2 separate regions of the Homo sapiens genome follow, and region 2 is linked to region 1. Evidence: promoter capture Hi-C in 16 types of primary human blood cells and fetal thymus (Javierre and others, 2016). All regions are on one chromosome and are shown on one strand. The core of a region is centred on a gene start or on the middle of the fragment in contact, and the rest is flanking DNA. Distances in the headings are between cores, read along the strand shown. Region 1 holds the start of ARFGEF1 (ARF guanine nucleotide exchange factor 1). Region 2 has its middle 4.3 kb from the start of TRY-GTA5-1.

What was found. The method cuts DNA at HindIII sites, captures the fragments that hold promoters and counts their contacts. A CHiCAGO score of 5 or more calls a contact.
Region 2: a contact is called between a fragment that was not itself captured here and the fragment with the promoter of ARFGEF1 in region 1, in 4 of 17 cell types (non-activated CD4 T cells, total B cells, monocytes and 1 more). The highest score is 8.5, in non-activated CD4 T cells.

Annotation. Positions count from the first base shown.
Region 1 is chr8:67,337,559-67,345,149 of GRCh38, reverse strand. It overlaps ARFGEF1 (ARF guanine nucleotide exchange factor 1), which reads left to right and starts at 1,369. Exons shown (of 39, transcript NM_006421.5): 1 at 1,369-1,986. The coding sequence starts at 1,863. ARFGEF1-DT (ARFGEF1 divergent transcript) reads right to left here and starts at 1,316. Exons shown (of 5, transcript NR_136224.1): 1 at 848-1,316. RefSeq lists silencers at 1,079-1,338, 1,519-1,748 and an enhancer at 1,675-2,355. The HindIII fragment of the contact is 1,332 bases long and covers 639-1,970 here.
Region 2 is chr8:66,105,237-66,112,810 of GRCh38, reverse strand. No RefSeq gene overlaps it. Among named protein-coding and RNA genes, the nearest start is that of TRY-GTA5-1, 4.3 kb to the left of the region's middle. RefSeq lists enhancers at 1-18, 89-138. The HindIII fragment of the contact is 6,679 bases long and covers 560-7,238 here.

The DNA.
Region 1 (7,591 bases), core at 120-2,619:
ATGAATTAGAAATGGATCAACACCTGTGAAAGAAGGGAAGAAAAAAATAAAAGAAATGGAACTTGTTCTAAAAAAGTTTATTAACGTATACACAGAAATCAGTATTATATCTGATCTAAGAGTATAATGAATCCTTCATTTCCAGGAATCTAGAGATAGTCTCTAAAATAAAATTAATGAATTTATAGATTTGTTTCTCAGGACAATAAAGTTTAAAAAAATTAATCTATTTTTCCACTTTAATTTGTCACCTTCAAGTTTTCCATTTTATTTCCTCTGGGTTTTAGCCTTCCTAAATCTGGTCACTTCACTAAGTTCACAGAGTCACTTAAGTTTCTCCTTCCTTAGGTTTGGATGGTTACGTTAGGACAAGCCTATAGTTAAGGCAATCTAATAGAACAGAACAGTGACAGATGCATAGTAAACATTAGGGAACCTGTGTGCGTGGAGCCACAGAAGCTTAGAACTTGGAGACGTGACCCTAGATCACCATATATAATGTTTGCAAATATTTTTATGGTATTCTTTTTCTGCTCAGAAGGAAACTGTAGAAATTAAATACTGCAGAAATTTGAGTTCTACACTCAGACTAAAGCAAACACATGGTCACGTGTGTTAATCTGTTTGTACTTAAAGCTTTTCCATTCTAAACTGGTTTACATGTCCTGGACTAAATCTTAGTATTAAAGGCACAGAAACACAGAACTCTAAGGGACCTCATTCACAACCATTCACCTTAACTGAGTCAATTCAGAAGGGACCTGAAATCTAGAGTTGACCGATTTATCCGACAGAGAGAGAAAAAAGTGAAACATTTTTGAACCCTTATCAATAGGTTTTGGCTTACTTTTCCCAAAACAGAATCCTCCCTGAGGTAGTCGGAGAGCAGAGTCCTGGACAGCAGTTCCGTGCACTAGGGAAGGAAATTTTAGAGTCGAGTGATGCAGGCGGAGACCCTGCGGCTGAGAACGGGCGATGCGGGTGTTGCTGTGACCCCTGGAATGCAAAGGACTGCACCCCCATCAGAAAGTTAGAAAGCCAGTGCAGAGTAGCCAGGAGTCCTGTTCACTCGGCAGGAGCAGGGGTGCCGAGTGGGGGGATCTCTGGTCCCGCAGCTCGGCCGCCACCAAGAGCCCGAAGTGCTGGGCGCGGTGCCACCAGAGGCCCGCCACGCCCCACGCCGCCCTGCAGGCGAACGCTGGAGGCCCCGCCGGGCCGCCGTAGCGCTGCGGCTCGGGCCGCTCCTCCCGCGCCGCCCTCCGCCCCCAGCCTCCCGGCGCCGCGGCAGCTCTGGGCAGGGAGCGCCGCCGCCGCCGCCGCCGCCGCCGCTTCCTCGTCTGCAGCCGTTCGGCCGCTGCGTGACGCGTCGTTTCCTCCCAACATGGCGGCCGGGGCAGGTCGGCGGTGATGGGGGCCAGTTCGCGGCCGCGGCGGGTGCTAATCCCCACAGTAGCCAGGGTAGCCCTTCTCTCGCGGTGCCTCTGAGAGCCGCCGCCACCTCGTCCCTCAGTTCCCGGCAGACAGCCGCCCGGGCCGGGCTCCCTCACCGCCACCAGGGCCGGAGGGACGAGTGAGAGGGGCGGCCGGGACGCGACCCCCGGGCCGGGAGAAGCGGAGGCCCGACGGGCGCGGCCCTCGAGGTACGGCTTCTTGGGGGCGGCGAGGACCTCGACGCCCTTCGCCGACACCGCGGCTGGTCCCGCTCGCCCGCCCCTTCCTGATCCTGCCGCTGCCCTCCACGCCTCCAATCCCCCACCTCCACCCCCTCTCCTTTCTCTCTTCTCTTCCTTCCTCTCCTCCTCCTCCCCTCCAGCCGCTGGGAGCCGCGGGTCGGACGAGCCGCCGCCTCCTTCTCTGCGTCCATGTATGAGGGGAAGAAGACGAAGAACATGTTCCTGACCCGGGCTCTGGAGAAGATATTGGCCGACAAGGAAGTGAAGAAGGCGCATCACTCCCAGCTGCGCAAAGCTTGCGAGGTGGCGTTAGGTGAGCGGGGAGGAGGCCCGGGGGATGGGGTGCTTGTTGTGGGGCGGGGAGGGGGGCGCCTGTGGGGGGGTGGGGTCGCCCGGGGCTTGCCCGAGGCCCGCGCCTCTGACCTCGGGAAGCCCTCGCGGAGCCCTCTGTTCCCTGTCTGGAGTTGACAGGAACTCGGCTGGATGTGGGGCAGAGGCGGGGTAGAGGAGGAAGGGCAGTGAGCTGGGCTCGGGAAACGCGGCAGGGCTTAGGATCGCGGGGCACCTGGGTTCGAGGGATCGACTTGAGAGTGAGAGGATTTTGTTGGTGGTCCGTGAGGTGCGGACTGGATACCACCCTTTGTGATGAAGCAGAAGATGAGCTGTTGTTTATTAGCTTGGAAATTGAGGTGGGGCTGGTATGTCAAGATTGGGTGTGGGAAAGGTTCCGTATCATAATTAACAATAACTTTTTCGTTTGGCGAGGTACTTTGGGGAGATAGGCTGCTGAAGTTGTTTCCTTGTTGACAGTCTTGAGAAGGGGTTTGCAAGAGGTGCAGCCCGTTCTGACATCTCTCCGCCTCCGCCACAGGAAAAACATAGAGTAATATTGTATCTGACTGGGCTGACCTGGAAGAACAAGACCGGTGGTTAAGGGGTGAGGGTGGGGGTGGCGGCATGAAAGCAGGGAAGCAAAGAACCTTTAGATAAAATGGCTTTAGGTGACAAGGGAAGGGAGGGTTTGAAATGAGGAAAATGAAAAAGACAATGACACCCACCAGCCACATGTCTGGACAGTGGCAGCTGCTCTCAAGCTTGAATTGTGATTTATAGTTCAGATGGAAGAGATCTAGTGTAATGAAGCCCGCAGCAGGGAAAATCCAAACAATACCTCCTACCTATGAGGTTAGGCAGATGAGGAGTTGTTAAAGGGGGAACATTGTTAGATCTATTGCATCCATCAAAGTTGAAATCGTTTGAGAGACCAGAACATTTAACACAAAGATACATTCCTAATGTTTACACTTTATAGCACTGGAAATACACTAGGTCAAATTGGCAAGAAAAGGAAGCTTGTTAAATGGGCTTTACAAAAAAGCATTCTTGAAAGGGGAAAAATCCACAATAACTTAAAGTATGCTAGAGTTAAGGAGTCTAGACAACTTAAAATTAGCTTTTAATTATTAAATGGAAGACTACCATTTAATTTGCTGTAATATACTGTAGTTTTTTTTTCCTAGATCGTTAAAATTGGTAATATGAAAAACGTCGAAGAAATTTCATCTTAAAACATTTGAATGTGTAGTATTAGGGGCTTAAGATTATTTTTTCACCTTACTTATCGACCAGAAGTTTGCATTTTGTTATTTTTGTAGCTAACAAAAGACTGTTCCCGGTGTATGAGAAGACAGTTGTCTAGTGGCAAAAACTGTATTTATATCTAGATCCTGAAAGGAATAATATTAAATTGGAGTGAGACTGGGGAGAAAGTGATTTCAGGATTTTTAAAAGAATTGTTATATGTAGGTTTGTAAATTACTTGAAGGTTGAAGAACTTTAGAGAGATTCAAATTAAAGTTTTAAATTTTTGTTTGTTTTTTGAGACAGGGGCTTGCTCTGTCACCCAGACTGAAGCGCAGTGACACAATCAGTGCTCAGTGCCGCCTCAAACTCCCAGGATCAGGCATTCCTCCTGCCTCAGCCTCCCAAGTAATTGGGACTTCAGGCACACCACCACACCTGGCTAATTTTTTTTTTTTTTTTTTTTTTTTGGTGGAGATGGCGGTCTCTCTATATCGCCCAGGCTGGTCTCCAAATCTGGGCTGAAGAGAGCCTCCCACCTTGGCCTCCCAAAGTGCTGAGTTTATAGGCATGAGCTACCTCTCCTGGCCTTAATTTTTTATAATTCAGATTTTTCATGTTACAACATATTTTTAATACATTAAATTGTAAGTATCAAACTGAAGAAATGGAGTGTGTTGTGTGTATGTATATATTTTCCTTCTCCAAAGTAGTAACATAAGTAAGCATATTTTAATGGAGAGCCTACTGGAATGAGAGTCTGAGATCCTAGGTTTAAATCCCAGTTCTGTTACGTTGTAGTATTAGGCAAGTCCCTGGGCCTTAAGTTCTCTGTAAAATTAGGGTATTGAACTTAATGATTGTATGGTCACATCTCCTCTAATGTGCCATAAATGTGATTGCACTGTCCTGTTAACTCGTGCATTGGGTATTCCCTACCACTCATGAGCATCATCTTTAGAGGGCCTATAGCGCTCTAAATGGTCCTTGCCATTTCTGGAGGTCGGGATTACTTGATATGTGTGCCAACTGTACCAGGGTTGTCTATTCCAGATTTTGACAGTTTTTACTTTTTTGTCCCTTCTGTATACTCAATAGAAGCTTGTTACGAGGAATGTGACTATCCAGGGAAGGGCTAGGCACCACAGTACTTTATTTACTTGAGATGTATGAGGCATTTTTTCCCACATTTCGTAAAGTTACATTTAGCCTCCAACAAAGCAAAATCTCAGTAATCTCATGGTAGCTAATCCCTGGTGAACTTTGTTTCTTCCCTTGCAGTCTATCTACATCACCACCCAAACATAAATTGATAAGCATAACTCATTTTGTCTTTGCAGAAAGTATATTTTGCAGGAAGATGGTATTCCCACAAATGTATTGTCCTTGAAGACCGTTAGAGACTTATCTTCTCCACTTCACTATTGAGACCTGGGCCAGGCCCGCTCTGGTCTGTTGGTAATCTATGTGGCCATTAAGCAGGATGGGAAAGCAAACTGAAAAGGCCTGATTTAGTCCTCTCGGTTCTATAGATTGTGAGTGGGTAGGTGTTGGATGGTGAAGATACAGAGATCATTTTGTGGGTGGTGTTATAACCCTTCTAAATACCCACCTGTCTGTCTTCATTCTTTCCCCAAATATTTATTGAGCATACAGCTGAAGGGAGATGGACAGTTAACAGGAAAATACATAGTATGTCAGACATTTAATCCTTTTTTGTTTGAAAATCATTGTATTGGCATGTGAGTAGATTTCTGAGTATTGCCATTCAAAATTAATTCAGCTACCTTTTAACATATGGCCAATTATAGATGGATTTTCTGTAAACTATACTCATGAAATTACAGCTTATTGTGTATTCTTAAAACTTTTTTTTTTGTCAAAAAGTATAACTTATGAAACAGCATGTAGATTAGGGGAAATTTTACTTCATTAAAACAATCCATTCTCAAAGACTTCTCAAGGAACTTTTATTTTCACAGAAAGAAAAATAAACCTTTAAAGGGATGCAGAGTTAATGTAAAACGTTTTTCAAATTTTCTTATGTCAGACTTCATTTTGAAGTAAAGAATGGTTAAAAAAGAAAGAATCCCCCCCCCCGCCCCACACTGTTACACTGTTACAACTGATAAGAAGCCCACAGGCCCAGGAACAGCTCCAGGTTGCCCTCTTTTGGTACCTGCCCTACTACAGCTCTCTGCAGAGAGAGGGAGTCTAGGCTGCCCTAGCTTAGCCTGATCCATTCCTGCTCTCGAGAATCCTGACTTAAAAATAGTCTGGCCATCTGCTGGCAGATGAGACAACAGCTGAGCTATTTTTAGTTTCAAAGAATTTAGGATTGTTGTGGGATTGGGCTTGAAGGTAGCATTGTTTATCTGCTAGGGAGGGTGCAGTTGGGACTTATTCCAGTAAGGCCTCTAAGTTTCAGGAGTTTCTTTTATGTTAGGGTTGTGACTAGTTCAGCTTATGCTTTCTGACATCGAATGAAGAGTATCTATGAAGATACTCTGCAAATGTTAGGATGAAAGAGTTCAAGGTTGGAAACTGTCACTGATACACAATAAGAGTGAAAAAGTTGAAGAGCTGACCAGAAGAAGGTTTTAAAGGGAAGGGAGGCATATACTGGCAGTGATAAGGGTGGGTTCCCAGGAGGTATATGGGAAAATAATGGAGACAAAATTGTTAGGGAAGTAATTTTTGCATCAGACAGGGTATGAATTTATATTGTTCATCATATTATAAAGTGATCCTGCTGACTTAGTTTTCTTATATAAGAGTCTATTACCTGTAATTATAGTTTCATCCAGAGATACAATATTGAGACTCAAACTTTTCAGAACTTGCTTCCTTCTGCCCCTTTAATCCCACCCTTATTTTTGTTGGTGGAGTTATAAAAAAGATACGTCAGTGGAGGGGAAATTACTTGAATGCTTTGGGCCCTGGTTTTATGCTACTTTTGGTAACTATTAATTTTCATCACTCTTCACCATTTATGAAAAAATGATTTATCCCCAAACAATATCCTGCCATCAGTGAACACCTTAATTATAATTTAAATCCATTAACAAATCTCCGTTTAAGCCTTCTTTGATATCTAAAGTAAAAGGTGTTTTCAGTAAGCCAGGCTACCTGAATTTTTGAGATGGGTAGAAGAAAAGAGTATAATTAATGACATAACCGAAAGATTGATCCTATTTGTATTTGTTCTTTTCTTTCACATTTCAGATTTGTTTTTAGGACACTTGCTCTAGAATAGTGTTGACTGAAATAAATGTTGCAGAGTACAAGTTCTTAGAGAAGCTCTTTGAAGAAAATAAGTTTGGGTTGAAAAAATAAGTTTGGATTATAGTGTGTAATCTGTTTCCATTTGGGAAATTTATAATGCACATGAACATAGTTAAGATTCTGAAAAGTCCTCCAAGAAAGACACCTGCTCAATTTTGTTTAATGAAGTTCTTCCTGAATTTATGTGATCCTTTTTCATTGTTTGCTAACTCAGTTAACTCCCCTAGGATATGTTGTTCCTTGGAACTTACTTTGGGACACTGGGGAAAGAAAGACAAGTACAATAACCCTAACTACTGGTGAGACCATCTTCTAGAAGAGGTTTGGGGAAATCAGTGCACAAACCTGTGTTTCTCTAAACACAGGTTTGGGGAAAGTAGTAGATGTGTTAATAGTGTGGGAAGGAGAAGAAAGTCCGAAATAAGGAGCAGTAGAAATATCGAGATCAGAGGACTGTTTGCTGACTAGCTTTCTTTCCCACCCCATCTAGGGGCAGGTAACTCATTTGTGTCTCTTGGTAAGGTTTAACTTAGAGAGAAAATTGTGAATGGGAAATAATTTGGGGAAATATTTGTCATAATATTCCTCACATAATGGAGGAAGGAAGATATTTGAAAAGGAAAAATACATGAGTAAGTTATTGTTGCCATTCCGAACTAGGTATATATTTCAATCAGATATTTGTTGAACTCCTCATATGTTCCAGATACTACTTCATTGCTGGGTATACAGCAGTGAACCAAACATGCTTTCATAGAACACACATTCTAGTGGGGTGAGGGTGATAGTAACAACCTTATATCATCAGAAGAAAGAGTTCAGAAGGTTAAAGGGAAAAGGGTGGGAGTACTGATTTAGTTAGAGTTGTCAGGAAAGTCCTATCTGTGAGATGACATTTGAGCAAAGAAGTGACATAAGTGGGGGATTTAGTCTTTCAGATACTTGGATGAAATAGAAACAGGAAATAGCAAGATGGATGTGTGCTTGGTGTGTTTCAGGATGCAAGGAGGCTTGTGTGGCTGGGAGAGAGACAGAGAGAAAGATGGGAGGGG
Region 2 (7,574 bases), core at 2,650-5,149, 1.2 Mb after region 1:
CACCGGTCCAACTCCCGCGGGGTGAAGGGAAGGCCCCGAGGGTCTCGGAACGCCCCCGGCAGGCAAGCCGGGTTAGGAAGACGCCACTGAAGCCCGGGGTTCTGTAGACAGAGCTGGTTCCACCGCATCTACTAAGACATCAGAGTCACTAAGTTCCTAGAGAAAGTCCCCTCACCAACCCCCGGCTAAGCAAAGAGAGGGAAGAAGATCACATAGAATGTCTTTTTGATCTGGTTCCTATTTTATGTTTAATTTTAAAAAGTTATTCAATCCCAGATAGGCTTATAATCCTGCTTCGTCGGCCTATTTTTGTAAGGTCATAGCGTTTATAAATTGTTAAGGTTTGCTGCCATATTCCCACTCAGTTGTTAGCGTAGCGTAAAAACCATCCAACGACCTGGGTTTTGCCCTTAGAGATCTTTTAACCAAGAAGGCATCATGTTGGTTTGGGCAAACTGAGTTTCTATTTTAATGTTATTATAGTAATATTTGTGGAAGGGAGATTGGAATTATTTCTTAAATCTCCCCTGTAAGATAGCAGTTCCCAAAAGTAAAAGCTTTAATAAAATGTAAAATTAGGGAAGATAAAATACGAAGTTAGAGAAAAGAAAAGGGCTGGATTTTTAAGTGGGAAAGCGGCTTCCTTAAGACTGCACAAACATGAGATTATTTTTGTTTCCTGGTGAACATTTTGCCATTTTTGCATGTAACAAGCCGACGTATCTTTAAAGTTATACAGCATTTCTGAGAGTTTGAGAAAATGACCTCTGAGAGGTGGGGGAGGTGAGTTGTACCCCTCTGGCTCAAGTTTGTGGACAGAACCATGAAAATCAGGCTAAGAGAAAAGTGCCTCCTTTTAGTCCTACCTTCTCCTTATTTTACAAAGGTGGCGAGCAGGGTGTTTATTAAATTATTATTTTCATTATTTTTTAGAAACAGAGTCTTGCTTTGTTACCCAGGTTGGGGTGCAGTGATGCCATCATAGCTCACTGCAGCCTCAAACTTCTGAGCTCAAGTGCTTCTCCTGCCTCAGCCTCCTGGAATTACAGGCATGTGCCACCTCACCTGGCTCTGGCTTTGTTGCCCAGGCTGGTCTTGAACTCCTGGCTTCAAGTGATCTTCCCGCCTCAGCCTCCCAAAGTGCTGGGATTAAGGCACGAGCTACCATACCTAGCCAAGCCCTCTTCCCCAACAGCCAACCTTACTTGAGTAATAGGTTTCAGGGAGGCCAAACGTGTGATTTTTGGCCTTCTTACTTGTAAGTGACAGAAATTCACAAGAGTTAGTATAAGCAAGACATTTATTTTAATGATACAGGGGTGTCCCCAGGAAAGCAGAGATGAAATGTAACTAGGCCTTCTTAAAGGTTTCTCTCTCAGTGTTTCTCAGCTCTGCTCTAGTGCACACAGTTGGAAACATGGTGCTGTCCCCCACCCTAAAAGTTCTGGAGCTTTATTCTTCACAGTCTATCACACAGAGAGTCACTTCTCTTTCTCAGGCCTGACTGCAAAACTCTCCATTATTCTTGGCCTCACTTAGGTGCTCACCCACTGTGTCCAGGGATCAGGATTACATGTATGAAGGTTGGGCGCATACGACTATACCCCTTCCTCCCCAGGAGTACATTGAAAAGATGATAAAAATACACAAAAGAAAAAAAATCTATTGCAACATGGAAAACTACAGTAGGTATAAGTAACAAATAGAGATTTTAAATAACTTCTACAAGGTGAAAATCAAATGAGATTATAATGGAGAAAAACACAGCTCCAAATGCACATTCTGTAAGCTAGCAGAGACAAAACCATTCTCCCCATGGAGCTCACAAGAGACTCCACGCACAGAGGCAGCAGCACAGAGGTCAGCCGCCCACAATGTTGTGCAGCCGTTGCTGAATTTTTTGCCAGGGAGATCCCACTGGAGAATGGCTTAAGTAGAGTAGATTTGCCAGACTAGAGCCTGTGGAGTGGTATAGGGCTAGGGAGTAGGGCAGAGTAGAGCCTAATAGAGATGGAAGGAACAGGAAGGCCACCGTACCCAACTCTCAGAGCGAGTTCTTTCTTGAGTTGGCAGGTTGGAGGATCTTGGGCCAGCATGGCTGTTCTCCACTCATGCACCATAAATGCAAAGCCTGATAGTCCGCAGGACACAGCCATTTTTACAGATAGCAATGTATCATGAAGGACACGTTATGTTTACCAGACATTTGGGAGGAAATAACAACAACTTCAAAAAGAAAGTCCAAGATGAACAAGTTAAATAAATGACCGAGGAGAAAACAAATAATGCAAAGAATAGAACAGAACTATTTAACAAAAAAGTAGTTAGGGATATCCTCAAGGACATCCAAGAGAGAGTTACAGCAATGAAAACCAAAATACAGTGATATTAACAGGAGCAACTAGGGAAGAAGAGAGTTCCTGAATACTAAAAGTATGATTGCTAAGGTGAAAAGTAACATACTGGTCATGGCTAAAGATCAGCTATGAAGATATAGAAGATAGAATGGAAAATATATCCCAGGACATCAGACCATGGAAAGCAAAAAATAAAAACATGACACTGGGTACAGTGGCTCACCCCTGTCATTCCAGTACTTTGGGAGGCCAGGGCGGGAGGATTGCTTGAAGCTAAGAGTTTGGGACCAGCCTGGGCAACAAAGCAAGACCCCCATCTCTACAAAAGATACGAAAATTAGCTAGACATGGTGGTGTTTACCTGTAGTCCCAGCTACTTGGGAGGCTGAGGCAGAAGGATCTCTTGAGCCCAGGAGTTCAAAGCTGCTGCGGGCTATGATTGATTGCACCATTGCACTCCAGCTCCTGGGACAGAGTGAGATCTGGTTATACACACACACACACACACACACACACACACACACACACACCAAAAAAAAGATAGAAAAGAAAAAAAAAAGAAAAGATAGATCCTGAAGACATAAAGAGTATCTAATATGAGCTCCAGAAAGAGAAAACAGAGACAATGCAGGGGTAAGAATAAAAGAAAGACATTGGTCATCAGATGGAAAGGATCATGCAAGTTAGGATGAATGAAAAATAACCATGCCTGGACACAGCCTAGTGACATTCAAAAGCATTGAGGATAAAGATGAAACCCTGTAACTTTCAGAGATGGAGGAAAACAAAGCAAAATCTAAACAAGAACTAGGCTAGCTACAAAGGAATAAGAATTGGATTATGATCAGACTTCTCATCATCATTACTGGATGCTAGAAGACAGTTGAGCATGGCCTTCAAAGCTCTGCAAAGAAATAATTTTAAGCCTAGAATTGTATGCCAATCAAAGTAGCAATCACATATGAGGACTAATAGTTCATAGTTGCAAGGTCTCATAAAGTTTAAATCTATGATTCCTCTCTGAAACAAATAAAAAGTAAGTAAACATTATTTGAGGATGTTGTACTGGATGGGTTCTCCAGTAAGCTGAAGCTCATGCAGAATTAGAGCACAACATTTTACAGGGGAGTAACATCTGTGAATGGAAAAGGGGAGGACACAGGATTGGGTAGGGGTAGTCATTAGACAGTGATGCAGACCCGACAAAGTTTCTGCCAACCCTCTTGGTGGCTCCAGAGCAAAGATTTCCTTTTGGAGGAGTCTCAAGTTGGGCAGAAATGGTGGGGCCCTAGCATCACCACCTTGCTCAGTCATTGGCCAGAGGCTTAGAACCTTGGCTAGAGGAGTTAACACCTGATGGCTACTAGTTAACCATCCTCCTTGCAGCTGGGCAGTGAGTTCTTTCTTGAAAGGCAGTCTAGCAGCATGTCTCTGTGTATGCCATGGATGTACTTCAGCAAAGCAAAGTAAGAATCCAAGAAGGAGGAGTACACAGGATTTAAGAAAAAAGGAAACCAACCCAGGGACTCAATGAAAAGAAAATCTCAGGTTGACAGTGATGCAGCTGGCAAAGAAAGCAATCAGGACAAATTAAGGGGAGGAAAAAAAAGTTAGAGGGCTCTGGGAAGTTTATTTTTCAAAAAGAAGCGGATTCTTTTACAATAGTAGTGTGATTAAGGATCTGGGAGACCTTAGAGATATGATAAAGGCACATGTCACTTTTCTCAAAAAGACAGAACGAAGATACTCAGGGATTTCTAAAAAAAACAAAAAAACAAAAAAAAACTTTATAAAAAATACGTGGTTCAAATATAAAGCAAACTGAAATATGGCACAATTTTGAGAAATTGATGGCATGCTTGTTGTTGGGCTGAATTGTGTTCTGTCTTCCCTCCCCACCCCAATTTATTTGTTGAAGACCTAACCCCTAGTACTTCAGAATGTGACTGTATTTGGAGATAAGGCCTTTAAAGAGGTAATTAAGCAAAAATGAGGTCATTAGGGTGCACCCTGATCCAATACAACTGGTGTCCTTATAAGGAGAACAGAATACAGAGACAGCAGGCACATGCATGCATAGAGAGAAGGCTACAGGAAGACGCAGGGAGAAGACGGCCATCTACAAGCCACGGAGAGAGGTCTCAGAAGAAACCAAACCTGCCAATACCTTGAGCTTAGACTTCTAGCCTCTAGAAGTGTGAGAAAACAAATTTATCTTTTTAAAAGCCACCCAGTCTGTGATATTTTGTTATGATAGCCCTAACAAACTATATGGGGATGGTGAAGAAATTTGCTTTTGTTTCTGCATTTTTTGACATCATTACATTTTTGTTTAACCATATGTAAGTTATTTTACATAACACGTATGGGTCAGAGTGTCCCATAATTGTCATCTAATTATAGATATTCTGTAATAAAAATTGCTTAAGAATGAAGAAACTGAGGCCCAAATATGTGAAATGACTTATCCAAGGTAACAGAGGGGAGAAGTGGCATATGAGATCTTAGGCCTCCTGAATCACAGCCAGGGCTTTCTGTAGCACTGCTTGGTCTCTCTGTCCTCAGATGGACACTTGGGTTAGGGATATTGGGCTGGCAGCTGCTACTCTGGGAGGAAGGAGGTTGAAAGGCAGGTTCTGATGCCAGTACGGTCAGAAAATGGACATTCTGGGAGTAGAAAAGCGTTTCATCTATTAAAGGTTATTCTCTTCTCACCTCTAAATCCAAAGGTGAAATCCCTTAAATTTGTTAACAGCAGTGCTCCAAGGAGGTGTGTCAAGACTCCGTGAAATGTGAAAAAAAAAAGCCATTGTTTATTTGAAAAATTATTCCTTAGACATATGTGCACTAAAGAGCTTTCAAGTTTTTCCTTTCAGTCAAGGAAACCATTCTACAGATCAGGAAGCTCTACCCAGAAAGATTAAACAATGTCTTTAGGATGACCATCCAGATTAGGGGAGCAAGGCTGTATTCAGGCTTACTGACTTATCCATGGTTTTCTCTAAATATGCACCATCTCCAAGAAGGATATTTGTGAGAAACCACAGAGATGTTGTTTCTAGGTCAGAAAGGGAACTATTCTGGGGAATTCCAGGGAAGGTACACTTGATTCTCATTATTCGTGTAATTACATTGTATAAAGTCATTTTGAACTCTGATTTAGTGAATGCTGAAAACATTGCTCCCAGGGGAAATAAACGGAGGCTCTGGCCATAATGTTTTTGTCAACTGATCAATGGATAATCTTGTTTTATGTGTGTTTCTGTTGAAGGACACCTTATTTAATACAGTTGATCCTTGAAAAACAAGAATTTAAACTGGGTAGGTCCATTCATACATAGATTTTTTTCAATGAATATATTGGAAATTTTTTTGGAGATCTGCAACAATTTGAAAAAACTTGACATGAGCCAAATAGCCTACAAATATTAAAAAATTAAGACAAAGGTATATCATGAATGCATGAAATATATGTAGATAGTAGTCTATTTTGTCATGTATTACCATAAAATTTTAAGAAGTTAAAATTTCTCAAAACTTATACAAACCCAAATTGTACATGGCACCATGCACAGTTAAAAGAAATGTGAATAAACATAAAGATGCAATATTAAATCACAGCTGCATAAAATTAACCATAGTACATACTGTACTACTGTGATAATTTCATAGCCACCTCCCATTGCTACTGTGGTGACCTCAAGTATTTCGAATATCTGCTTAAAATGCCATGTACGTGACTTTAATAATCTCCCTATGAGCAGTTTGTCTCTCCAGCAAATTGCCTGTGGCAGTAAAAAGTGATCTCTTGTGGGTCTCGAGGATTTTTTAATTGTAGTGAAATACCACAAACCTTGAATAACACCACAGGACCCATACGAAGTGCCACTCATGATGCTGGATATGCTCCCAAGAAGCAGAGAAAAGTCTTGATCCAAAAAGAAAAAGTTGAATTGCTTAATATGGACCATAGATTGAGGTCTACAGCTGTGGTTGCCAGGCATTTCAAGATAAATGAATCCAGTGTAAGGACCTTTGTGAAGCCGTCACTACAGCTGGCTAGCAGGCATGAAACCCTTGCACGTTTTGCCAAAAACCTCTTTATCTTGTATTGAAAATGCAGCTTTTACATGGGTACGGAATTGCTCTAAGAAAGACATACCTATAGACTCTAATATAATTCCAGAAAAAACAAAGTCATTATATGACAACTTAAGGCAAAAGGAAGGGGAAGGGTCTAAAGCTGGAGAATTTAATGCCAGCAAAGGAAGGTTTGATAATTTTAGAAAGCAGTTTTGGCTTTAAAAATGTCAAGATAACAAGAGCAGCTTCCTGACCAAGAGGCAGCAGGTGAATTTCTGGATGTCATTAAGAAAATCATTGAGGAGAAAAGAGATCTGCCTGAATGGTATTTAATGCAGATGACAATGCCCTATTCTGGGAAAAAAAAATGTCACAAAGGACATGTATTAGTAGGGATGAGAAGTGAGCCCCAAGATTTAAGGCAGGAAGGGATAGGCTACCTCTACTGTTTTGTGCAAACGCCATTGGGTTTATGAGTCAGACTGCCCTTATCTGTGAAGCTGCTAACAACCAAGCCTTGAAGGAAAAAGATAAAACACCAGCAGCCAGTCTTTTGGTTGCACAACAAGAAGGCCTGGACAATGAGAACCCTTTCTCTGGATTGCTTCCATCCATGCTTTATCCTTGAAGTCAGGAAGTACCTTGCCAGTAAGGTACTATCTTTTAAAAAAATTCTTTGATATTGAACAATGCCCCTGGCCACTCACAACCCCACAGTCTACTATACCCAGACCAAGCCCCTTTGTCTTGCCACATCCCTAATATTTATCATTCTTTGTTTAAAAAGGTACTTAAGCTTTTGGACCTAATGTCTTCTTTGGGTCTTCATTTTTCTTATAAAGACTTCCATGGACATATAAATATTAAATAAGATGCGTATGCTTTTCTCCTGTTAATATGTTTTATGCTATTATCGTTTAATTCTTAGGCCCAGCCACAGAACCTAAGATGACAGAAGGAAGTATTTCCTCCCCTACAGTTTGTGTAAAGAAAGTTTGTCCTCTTCTAGGTAGGTAACTCCACAAATATGGAATGAAGATTGACTGCATTATTCACCCAAATGCAATCCTGAATTATATGCCAAATCACTACATCAAAAGATATTTAATGAGACCAAGCCCCAGCCTACCTCCC